Linked DNA regions of Homo sapiens: region 1 is linked to region 2. The links are contacts of gene promoters, found by promoter capture Hi-C in blood cells and fetal thymus (Javierre and others, 2016). All regions are on one chromosome and are shown on one strand. Each heading gives the region's core, a stretch centred on a gene start or on the middle of the fragment in contact. The rest is flanking DNA. Distances are from core to core; before and after follow the strand shown. Region 1 has its middle 29 kb from the start of IL7R. Region 2 holds the start of SPEF2 (sperm flagellar 2).

Region 1 (4,919 bases), core at 1,797-4,296, 270 kb after region 2:
CCATCCCCTTGGTGCTGTCCTCTCAAGAGTGAGTGAGATCTCACAAGACCTGGTTGTTTTAAAAGTGTGTGGCACCTCCTCCCACCCTTGCTCCTGCTTTCACCATGTGATGTGCCTGCTCCCCCTTTGCATTCCACCATGATTGTAAGTTTCCTGAGGCCTCCTCAGAAGCCAAGCAGATCTTAGCACCATGCTTCCTGTAAGCCCTGCAGAACCATGATCCAACTAAGCCTCTTTTCTTTATAAATTATCCAGTCCCAGGCATTTATTTATAGTAATGCAAGAACGAACTAACACAGCATGGAAGGCTCTTGATGATCTAGTGTATTACTTTCTTGTGGCTCCTGTAATAAATTATCACAAACTTAGTGGCTTAAAACAATACAAATTTATTTATTCTCCTGCAGATCAGGCATCAGAAGTCCAAAATCAGTCTTCTGGGGCAAAAATCCAGGTGTCAACAGGGCTGTGATACTTCTGAAGACTGCAGGGAGAATCCGTTTTCCAGCTTTTTTCATCCACCAGAGGCCACCTGTATTCCCTATCCCACAACCCTAGCCCCTTCCTCTATCTTTGAAGTGGACTATTTCATCCCCTGTTTCTATCATGACAGTGCCTTCTCTCATATTGACCCTCTTGCCTTATAAGATTCCTTGTGATTACACTGGGTCCACCTGCATAATCAAGGCTAATCTCTCCATCTGGAGATCTTAATATAATCACATCTACAAAGTCCCTTTGGCCATTGAAGTAACATATTTATATGTTTTCATTATTAGGATGTGGGACACTTTGTCAGGGACAGGGATTTTTCAGCCTACCTTTTTTCTTCACCTTTTGCCACCACTCTCAGCCTGTGGTCTCAATTGCCAGCCTTTACACTTGCTACCCCCATTGTCTGGGTAGTTCATACCAGTCCCTCAAGACTAGCCTCAGGCATTGCCTCTTCTGGGAATACATCCTCTTACAGGCCAGGATATGACTCATGGGTGCATTCCTAATAGCACTTCACTTATTTCTACTGTCACCACACTGATCTGTAATTACTTGATTTGTCTGACTCTTCTGGGGGCTTGTAAGCATTCTGGCACAGAGAACTATGACTTACTGGGGCTTACATCTCTTGCTAAACACAGTACCTAAAATTTAGTAGGCATTCCCTCATAAACATGAATGAATGAATCAAAGAATGAATAAACATTTAGGAAATGATGTTGTGTTGGTCAACTTCTTTCCTCATCACTGTTAAAGATAAAAGAATGCCAAGCCAGGTTGTTCAGACAGAAGCAAGCACCACATCCCTGAGAGAGCAGCACATCTGGGCAGCCATGTGTGAGAAGTCGGTTGCATTCCCCATACACAGTTGTCTTTGCAGCTGTACTCTTAACCACTGTAACCACAGAAGTGGGGAAACAATAGGGTGGGGTGAAGTGAAAAGAAAATTTTCCAAAACTTCATTTATCTAATAAATACAGATATTTAATTGTGTTTTTTCAGTTATTTAATTTTAGATTCATATGAAATTCTACCCTAATTTCTGAATTTTAATGGCTTGTGGCATTTGTGTGGGCATTTGTGTGTAGCTTGCAATGACACAGCTGTTCAGACAAAGAAAGTGTGATGCACAAAACCTATGAGGTCCAAGGAACACATTCATGCTCCTCAAGACTCAGGTAAAAGTAGTGAAGCAAACAATATGCAAAGCCCCTGAGGATTGAAAAATAAGGCTTACATACTGAATTGTGCTGAAACACTTGAGTTCATCTGGAGGGCCTCTCAATGGTAAATTGTTAGAACCAATTTGCCTTTACCCTAAGTAAAGATTTTTCATCAAGAAGAGGTGGAAAACTTACAGAGACTGAAAAGGACCCTCTTTTTATGATAAATTAGTTCCTGCAAAGTATGAACTGCACTAGTCATGACACAAAAACTATGCAGAATAATCAGAAAACATTTTATTATTAAGCTTATCCACTGATAGACTGAAATATTACTTTTAGAGCCTAAGAAAGCATTAATTTAATTAGAGCTTCAGTAAATGCTATAGTGTCAGACTGATAAACCTGTTTGCTACATAATTATAAACTTTCATGAATTTCACAGTGTGAAGTTCAAGTGTGAAGTTGCCAGTGTAGAACTGAATGATGCTTAAAGCTTTATTTTCTCAAATAAAAAATTTTAATAAAATAAGAGCAGATAAGCTAGGGTCATGCTCAGTGGTGAAATTTTAAAAGTACTCCATTATATTGAAGGATAAGACAAAAGAAATTCTATTGTCACTTCATTTAACATGGTTTTAGAAATTCTAAGAAATTCAATTAAACAAGAAAACACAGTAAAAAGCATAAATATTGAATAGGAGAAAATTAAATCGTCATTATTGGCAGATAAAATTATTGTATATATGGAAAACACAAGAGAATCAAGTAGAAAACACACTACAAGACACAGATACTTTATTAAGGTCTCCGCTTACAATATTCTCATGTTTATTTTTTTTAATTCTTATGGAATCTTTACAACTAAACTATTATTTGGTTGTGTCCTCAAATTAAAAAAAGATAGACATGTAATGTATCAAGTTGAAGATGTCACTTTCTAATCACACTCTTCAGGAATAGTCACATTTAATAAGTGACATTTAGGCTTCCAGATGCTCTTCTGTGCATACACTATTATTCTAAATATCTTGCAGAGAAATAAATGTTGGAGAATAGCCTGCACAATTCCAGAGAAGAAAAGAATTGTGAAGCAACTAACCATTCACGTGGTTTTAAAATTTGATTCAGCAGGAATTCACAGAACTATCAATGGTATAAAACAGAGAATCTGCAAGTCCAGATCTATGTAATTACAAAAAATTCATCCATTTCTAATCAGTAGGGTTAAAGTGGATTATTTAGCAAATAAGATTGGAATAACACACTAGCCATTTGCAAATGAAGAAAGGTAACTGACTTCTTATTTCAAAATAAATTCCACATAACTCAAAGATATAAATAATTTTTAAAATAAAAACAAATGCTAGAATACATGGATCAATCATTTCATATTTTTTGGATGCAAAAAGCGTTTCTAGATAAAACGTAAAACCTAAAAGCCATAAAAGGAAAAGATTGATATGTTTGACTAGATAAAATTTAGAATGCTGGTAATTTCTTTACTAAATTTTAAAAAGTCACAACCAAAAGAAAGATAAAAATAGACTGGAGAAAGACAGTAACACTATGACAAGCAAACTTCTGTTATCCTTATAAGACCCCAGAGTCTTACAAGTCAGCAAGCAAAAGATGAAGAGCCCAAGAAGGAAATGAACACAGCACATTAACAGAAGGCTCACAGGAGAAATAAAACAAACTTTAAAAATAGGAAAATGTGCGTAATCTCATTCTGAATAAACAATGCTGATAAAATGAATGAGATAAATGCTTTGCCCATTAAATTGTGAAAATTATAAAGATCACTAAATTTCAGTGCTGAGAAGGGCATAGGAAAATGGGCTTTATCATATACTGTTAATAGGAATGTAAATTAGGACAATTTGGAAATATATAACAAAAATTTTAATGTGTATACCTAGAAATTCTATGTATAAAATATCTATATATTATTTCTTGTAACTAAGAATTCTAAATCTAAATAAATTATAGTATATTCATATTATGGAATACTAACAAAGCCATTAAAAAATTCTTTTAATGTAAAAAAAAATTTCCTTCTTAGACTCTTCATCTTTTGCTTGCTGAATTATAACACTTCGGGTGTTAAGGATAACAGAACTTTGCTTGTCATAATGTTACTATGTTTTTCCAGTTTCTTTTTATCTTTTCTTTTGGTTGTGACTTTTTAAAATTTAGTAAAGAAATTACCAGCATTGTAAAACTAGCACGGTAGTGCTACATATGCTGATAAAGAAAAATGTCTATGTTATTTTGTCAAAAGCTTCTAGCAAGATAAAACTCTCCAAAAGTCTCCATCTTTCTCTTACTCCTTCCCCCTATCATTTCCATGAAAAATCCGAAATGTGCGGTGTATCTATCAGCTATTGCTACATTGATGCTCAACAACAAATCATGCCAAAACTCAGCGGCTTTAAGCAACATTTATTCTCACAAATTGTGTTGAATGATCTAGATTGGGCTCTGCTGGGTGATTCTATGATATTACTAACAGCTAGGATGACTCAGGGATCTGAAACTGAAGGAAAGTTAGCTGGGTTCAGCTGGGAATGCCTCTGTTCCATAAGTTTCCCGTCTTTCTCCAGAGACAAGCAGGCTAACCCAGCTGCCTCTTTTTACAGCAGGGGCATAAGAGGGCAAGCAGAAAAATGCAAGGCTGGCCTACCCATCAATTCCACTTCATTTTATTGGCAAAGAAGATCACATGACCAAACCCAGAATCAAGGAGTGAAGAAATATATTTCCCCTTGGGTAGAAACTTAAAATCACATGGTAAAATAGGTGGATAGGAGAAAGAGTGAAGAGTCAAGCCATTAATGCAATATCTTACAGTCATACATGAGGACAGCTTAGGTTACATTTACAGAAAGACACAAATGTCACCTCCCTATTTGAGGAAGCTCTTCCTATCTCATCCATATTGCAGCAAGACTACAGCCACATGCTTTCCATTACTTTGTGAAATAAGTTTTGTCTATATGTGTATTGAGAAACTTTAGGGAAGAAAAAGTATTTGGGTCATGCGAGGACTTCAATATACATGGATCTGTTAATCTAATAGCAAAATTATAATCATTTCTTACTGAAATTGTTAACATTAAAAAAATACTGTTCTCTTCAGTGTGAAATGGAAGGTTTTCCCTTTTATATGATTGATCCAGTTGAAATCATATGCATATCTTTGGGCCAATAACAGTCACTAGGAAAATGCCATGAACTTATTGGCTTGGAAATGGCTCA
Region 2 (4,870 bases), core at 423-2,922:
TGGAAGAAAATATTTGCAAACTATTAATCTGACAAGGGACTCATATCCACAACATACAAGAAACTCAAACAACTCAACACTAAAAAAACAAACAATCCCACTAAAAAGTGTGCAAAGGACACGGATAGACATTTCTCAAAAGAAGAGGTACAAATGGCCAACAGGTATATGAAAAAATTCATCATCTCTAATTATCAAATGCATATCAAAACCACAATAAAATACCATCTTACCCCAGTTAGAATGGTTATTATTAAAAAGACAAAAAACAACAGATGCTGGAGAAGATGTGGAGAAAAGGGAACTCATACTGTTGGTGGGGATGTAAATTAGTATGACCACTATGGAAGGCAGTATGGAGGTTTCTCAAAAAACTAAAAACAGAACTGCCATAAAATCCAGCAGTTCCACTACAGTGTATCTATCCAAAGGAAAAGAAGTCAGTATATCAAAGGGATACCTGCACTCACATGTTTATCACAGAACTATTCAAAATAGCCAAGATATGGAATAAATCTAAGTGTCCATCAGCGAACAAATGGAAAAAGAAAGAATGGTATATATACATAACGGAATACCATTTGTCCATGGAAAAGAATGAAAACAGGTCATTTGCAGCAACATGGATGAACTGGAGGCCATTATGTTCAATGAAATAGGCCAGGCAACAGAAAGACAAATACTGCATGTTTTACTCATATGTGGTAGCTAAAAAAGTTGATCCCCTGGAGATAGAGAACAAAATTATGAGTACCAGAGACTGGAAAGGATGTGAGGGTGGGAAGGGGAAATGAAGAGAGGTTGGTGAATGGGTACAAACTTATAGTTAGATGGAAGAAATAGGGTCTAATGTTAGCTAGCAACTGGGGTGACTATAGTTAGCAATGATACATTGTATATTTCAAAATAGCTAGAAGAGAAGATTTGAAATGTTACCAACGTATATAAATGATAAATACTCAAGGTGATGGATACCCCAAATACCCTTCTTCTTTTTCTTCCTCTTCTTTTTTCTTCTTCTTCCTCTTCTTTGATCTCTCCTTGTTCTCCTCCTTCTCCTTGTTCTCCTTCTTCTCCTTCTCTTTCTTCTTTTCCTCCTGTTCTTCCTCTTCTCCTCCTCCTCTTCCTCTCCCTCTCCTTCTCCTTCTTGTTATTCTTTCTTCTTTCTTCTTCTTTTTTGAGACAGAGTCTCATTTTGTTGCCCAGGCTGGAGTGCAGTGGCTCGATCTCGGTTCACTGTAAACTCCGCCTCCTGGGTTGATCCTTCCACGTCAGCATCCTGAGCTGGTGGGACCACAGGCGCACGCCACCACGGCCGCCTAATTTCTTACAGAAAAAAAAACGGTTTCTGCTACCTTGCCCAGGCTGGTCTTGAACTCCCAGGCTCAGTCGAGCGCCACCCCCTCCACAAAGTGGTAGGATTATTTGCGTGAGCCACGGAGCCCTGCGGAGACTCTGGTTTTACTTTCTGCTCACCTAAGAAGCTCCTGCTGTGTCCCTAAGTGTTCCCGCCTCGCCTCTCCCCACACCCACTGCTCCCTAACTTCTCTCACAGGCCCCCAACGGCTTCCTCCTGCGCTGGCGCACGCTCAGGTCTTACCCGCCAGCAGGTGGCGAAACACGATTTTCTGTCCTCTGCGGCTGAGCCCTAGCGTCCCCTCTTCTCTAAGGCCTTTCGCCTAGTTCCAGCCTGGATACGCTTCCATAGCAAAGGGTTGCCCTTGGCTACAGGAGGACGCGGGCTGGCAGGCTTGGTTCCTGGCGAGTTTCTAAGCCCCCGCCTGCGGTCTGAGGCACCGGCTGAACCATGTCGGAGATCCTGTGCCAGTGGCTCAACAAGGAGTTGAAGGTGTCCCGGACCGTGAGTGAGTGACCACGGCCAGGGGCGAGCGTCTGAGGGGCTAGCGGGGCGCAGAGCCTGCAGCGCAGCGCAGCGCACTCAGGGAAGGTGGCGGGCAGGGCGCGAGCTGCACAGGTGGGGCACCTGCGTAGCCGGCAGCATCCCACAGTGAGCAACTCGGCTCGGCGGTGCCCCAGGTCCGTCCCGCCACCTCCCTACAGCTCACCCCAGCCAGGGCAAGGCCTTGTCACGTCCCCACTCTGCCGCTCTCGAGTTACCCTTGTCACGGTGGGCCCAACCCGCAGGCATTCTGACTTTGTGATGTGGTTCTAGGCAATCAGAGGGTTTAGGAAGGTCTCCTTTGCTTCTGTGGAGAGGGAACTTTGCTGGACTTTGTAGTCTGACCCCAACGATGCCTCCTTCACATCACCAGAAGCAGAAGCATGGTGTGGTGGCTAGTCGATGAAATATGAAGCCACTGGACAAGTTACAATACCTTCTCTGAATGTGTTTCCTTCTCTATAAAATGGACCTAATAATGCTTTCCATACTTAACTGACCAGCAGGGGAGGGTGGGTGAAAAATAAGTTAATGTAGAATATGTTAACATTTACAAATTTTAGTAAATTTTAAGCCCCAAATCACAAACTAGCTATTTCTGGTCACTATTGGCTCTTGCCCAAAGCTGACCTTATTCACCAACCTAATTTTATCCTAACCATGCAGTTGCCACCCAAAGTTTCCAAGTCTGACAACCACAGAGACAATTTTACATGCTGGCAGCTTCCTTGACTGCCCTGTAATTCTTCAGGAGTTCATTTTTCAGTTGGTTTTGTTTGTCTTTTTTTCTTTTTTTGCTTAAGGGAAGAGGTTTTCAGGGCAAGTCATTTCAGTCCATTTTCCCAGAAGAACTTGCTTAACACCAGCTTGCTACCAGAGAGGCAGTGGTGCCAGTTCAACCTTAGCTTATCTACAGAAGTTGCTAGATCGGTAGTGTTTCTGTGGGTGCAAAGTAGTTATTAATACTCTCAGCATGAGGATCTTTAGCACGGAGCATCTCCTGTTGCATTTCTTGAGGCATAAACCTCAGACTCTTTCTTTGTCAAATAACCATCTACACACTCCCTGTGAACTGCAATAAATTCTTTCCTGGTATTCTACGATTATCCCATTGTGTCTCCAACTGTTTATTTGCTAAAATATGATGGACTGAGGACAATATTTAGCATTTATTGTTTCTTATTCCTGTCTCACCATAGGAGCCAAAATAAAATATCATGCCCTTAAGTTGTACTCTTCTAAAAGAAAAGCAGTTACATATTGCTTAGTTTAATTTAGTTCATTTATTTTATTAGTAAAAACCACACCCGGGCCGGGTGCGGTGGCTCACGCCTGTAATGCCAGCCCTTTGGGAGGCCGAGGTGGGCAGATCATGAGGTCAGGAGTTCGAGACCAGCCTGGCCAACATAGTGAAATCCTGTCTCTACTAAAAATACATTAGCCGGACGTCGTGGCGGGTGCCTGTAGTCCCAGCTACTTGGGAGGCTGAGGCAGGAGAATCGCTTGAACCCAGGAGGCAGAGATTGCAGTGAGCCGAGATCGCGCCACTGCACTCCAGTCTGGGCAACACAGAAAGACTCTGTCTCAAAAAACAAACAAAAAACAAAACAAACAAACAAACAAAAAACACCCTTTGCTGAAGTCCCCAGGACTCTATTGCAACATTTTGAAATACTTTTAGGAGAAATAAATGAAATTAATAAAGATACATAAAATAAAAACAGTAGATGCCATTATAATTTTAATTAGTTTTGGGAATTTAGGTTTTGAGAGGTGGAGGATAAACATAAAAGGGCTGAAGACTAAGTAAGAATTTTAACAACATTTAGGCTATGGATAGAAAATTCCTGGCGTCTGTGCTCCTGAAGTGTAGATCTGGAAGCTAGCAGAGATGCCCCGTTCTAATGGAGTATTCTGCTTTCCATTCACTAGCAAAACGTATTAATTTTTTAATCTCAACTACTATAAGAGAGATAGAGCGAGAGAGTCCTTGAGGAGGTAACCAGATTCCACATTGTAAAAGGTCTTTGGGAACACACTTAACTGTGTTTGTAAGCCAACAAGCTAGGATTTGTGCACTCAAGGAAGCACATTTCCTGCTGCTGCTGCCCCATCATTAGATAAACTGTTGTGTGGTGCACAATGGAAGGCTTTGGATGGTTTGTAGAATCTATCATGGAAGGACTGTGAGTGGGTGCAACCTCTGGGGAAAGTAATCAGGCAATTTCTGGGTAAGGGAAGTGTAAAAAGCAAGAACTTGGAGGTTAGACTGCTTGGAAATCTTTTGGACAAGTTATTTACCTAAATTTCATCATACTTAAAAACAGCAATAATAATGATACCTCATCTGGTTGTATCAAGATTAAATGGGATATTAAATGTAAAGCATTTAAAATAGCACTTTGGACATAAATGCTAAATCCTACTTCTCAGCATCTATCAAATAAAAATAAAAGCACCAATATATAAGGATATTTGAACAAAGACGTTTATTGCTACATGAATTACAGGGGCAAAAATAAAAATTGGAAACAATCTGAGTATCCTTCAAAAGTGTAATGCTTGGATACATGGTGCTTTATTCATACTATGAATTGTTATGCAGTTATTACAAAGAATTAGTTAGCTGCTATAACTTTTGGCTTAAAGGATATTTATGTATTTTTGTCAAGTAAAAACCAAAAGTTAGAGCTTATTGTGACTAGTATAATTATATATTTGTACCAATTAGGAAACACACACTTATGAATATGGACATTTATATGAGCATGAAGAAAAGTATGGAAAGACATATACTGGACTATTGACTTACACATGAATTTTCATATTATGGTTTGCGTAAGTGTAGAGGAAATTGTGGAAGGATATAAACAAGTGTGTTATAGGGATTACCCTGGGGAAGTGGAAGATTGGTAGCTTTTCTTTATATATCTCTGTTATCTGGCTTGTTGTTTATATTGCCTTTGTAAT

The links. Contacts are between HindIII fragments. The CHiCAGO score rates a contact against its expected background, and 5 or more counts as called.
Region 1: a fragment that was not itself captured here is called in contact with the fragment with the promoter of SPEF2 in region 2 in 5 of 17 cell types (naive CD8 T cells, total CD8 T cells, activated CD4 T cells and 2 more); the score reaches 6.7 in naive CD8 T cells.

What each region holds. Positions count from the first base shown.
Region 1 is chr5:35,883,312-35,888,230 of GRCh38, forward strand. No RefSeq gene overlaps it. Among named protein-coding and RNA genes, the nearest start is that of IL7R, 29 kb to the left of the region's middle. The HindIII fragment of the contact is 1,788 bases long and covers 2,153-3,940 here.
Region 2 is chr5:35,616,191-35,621,060 of GRCh38, forward strand. It overlaps SPEF2 (sperm flagellar 2), which reads left to right and starts at 1,673. Exons shown (of 37, transcript NM_024867.4): 1 at 1,673-1,865. The coding sequence starts at 1,808. RefSeq lists an enhancer at 1,716-2,523. The HindIII fragment of the contact is 5,837 bases long and covers 1-4,870 here.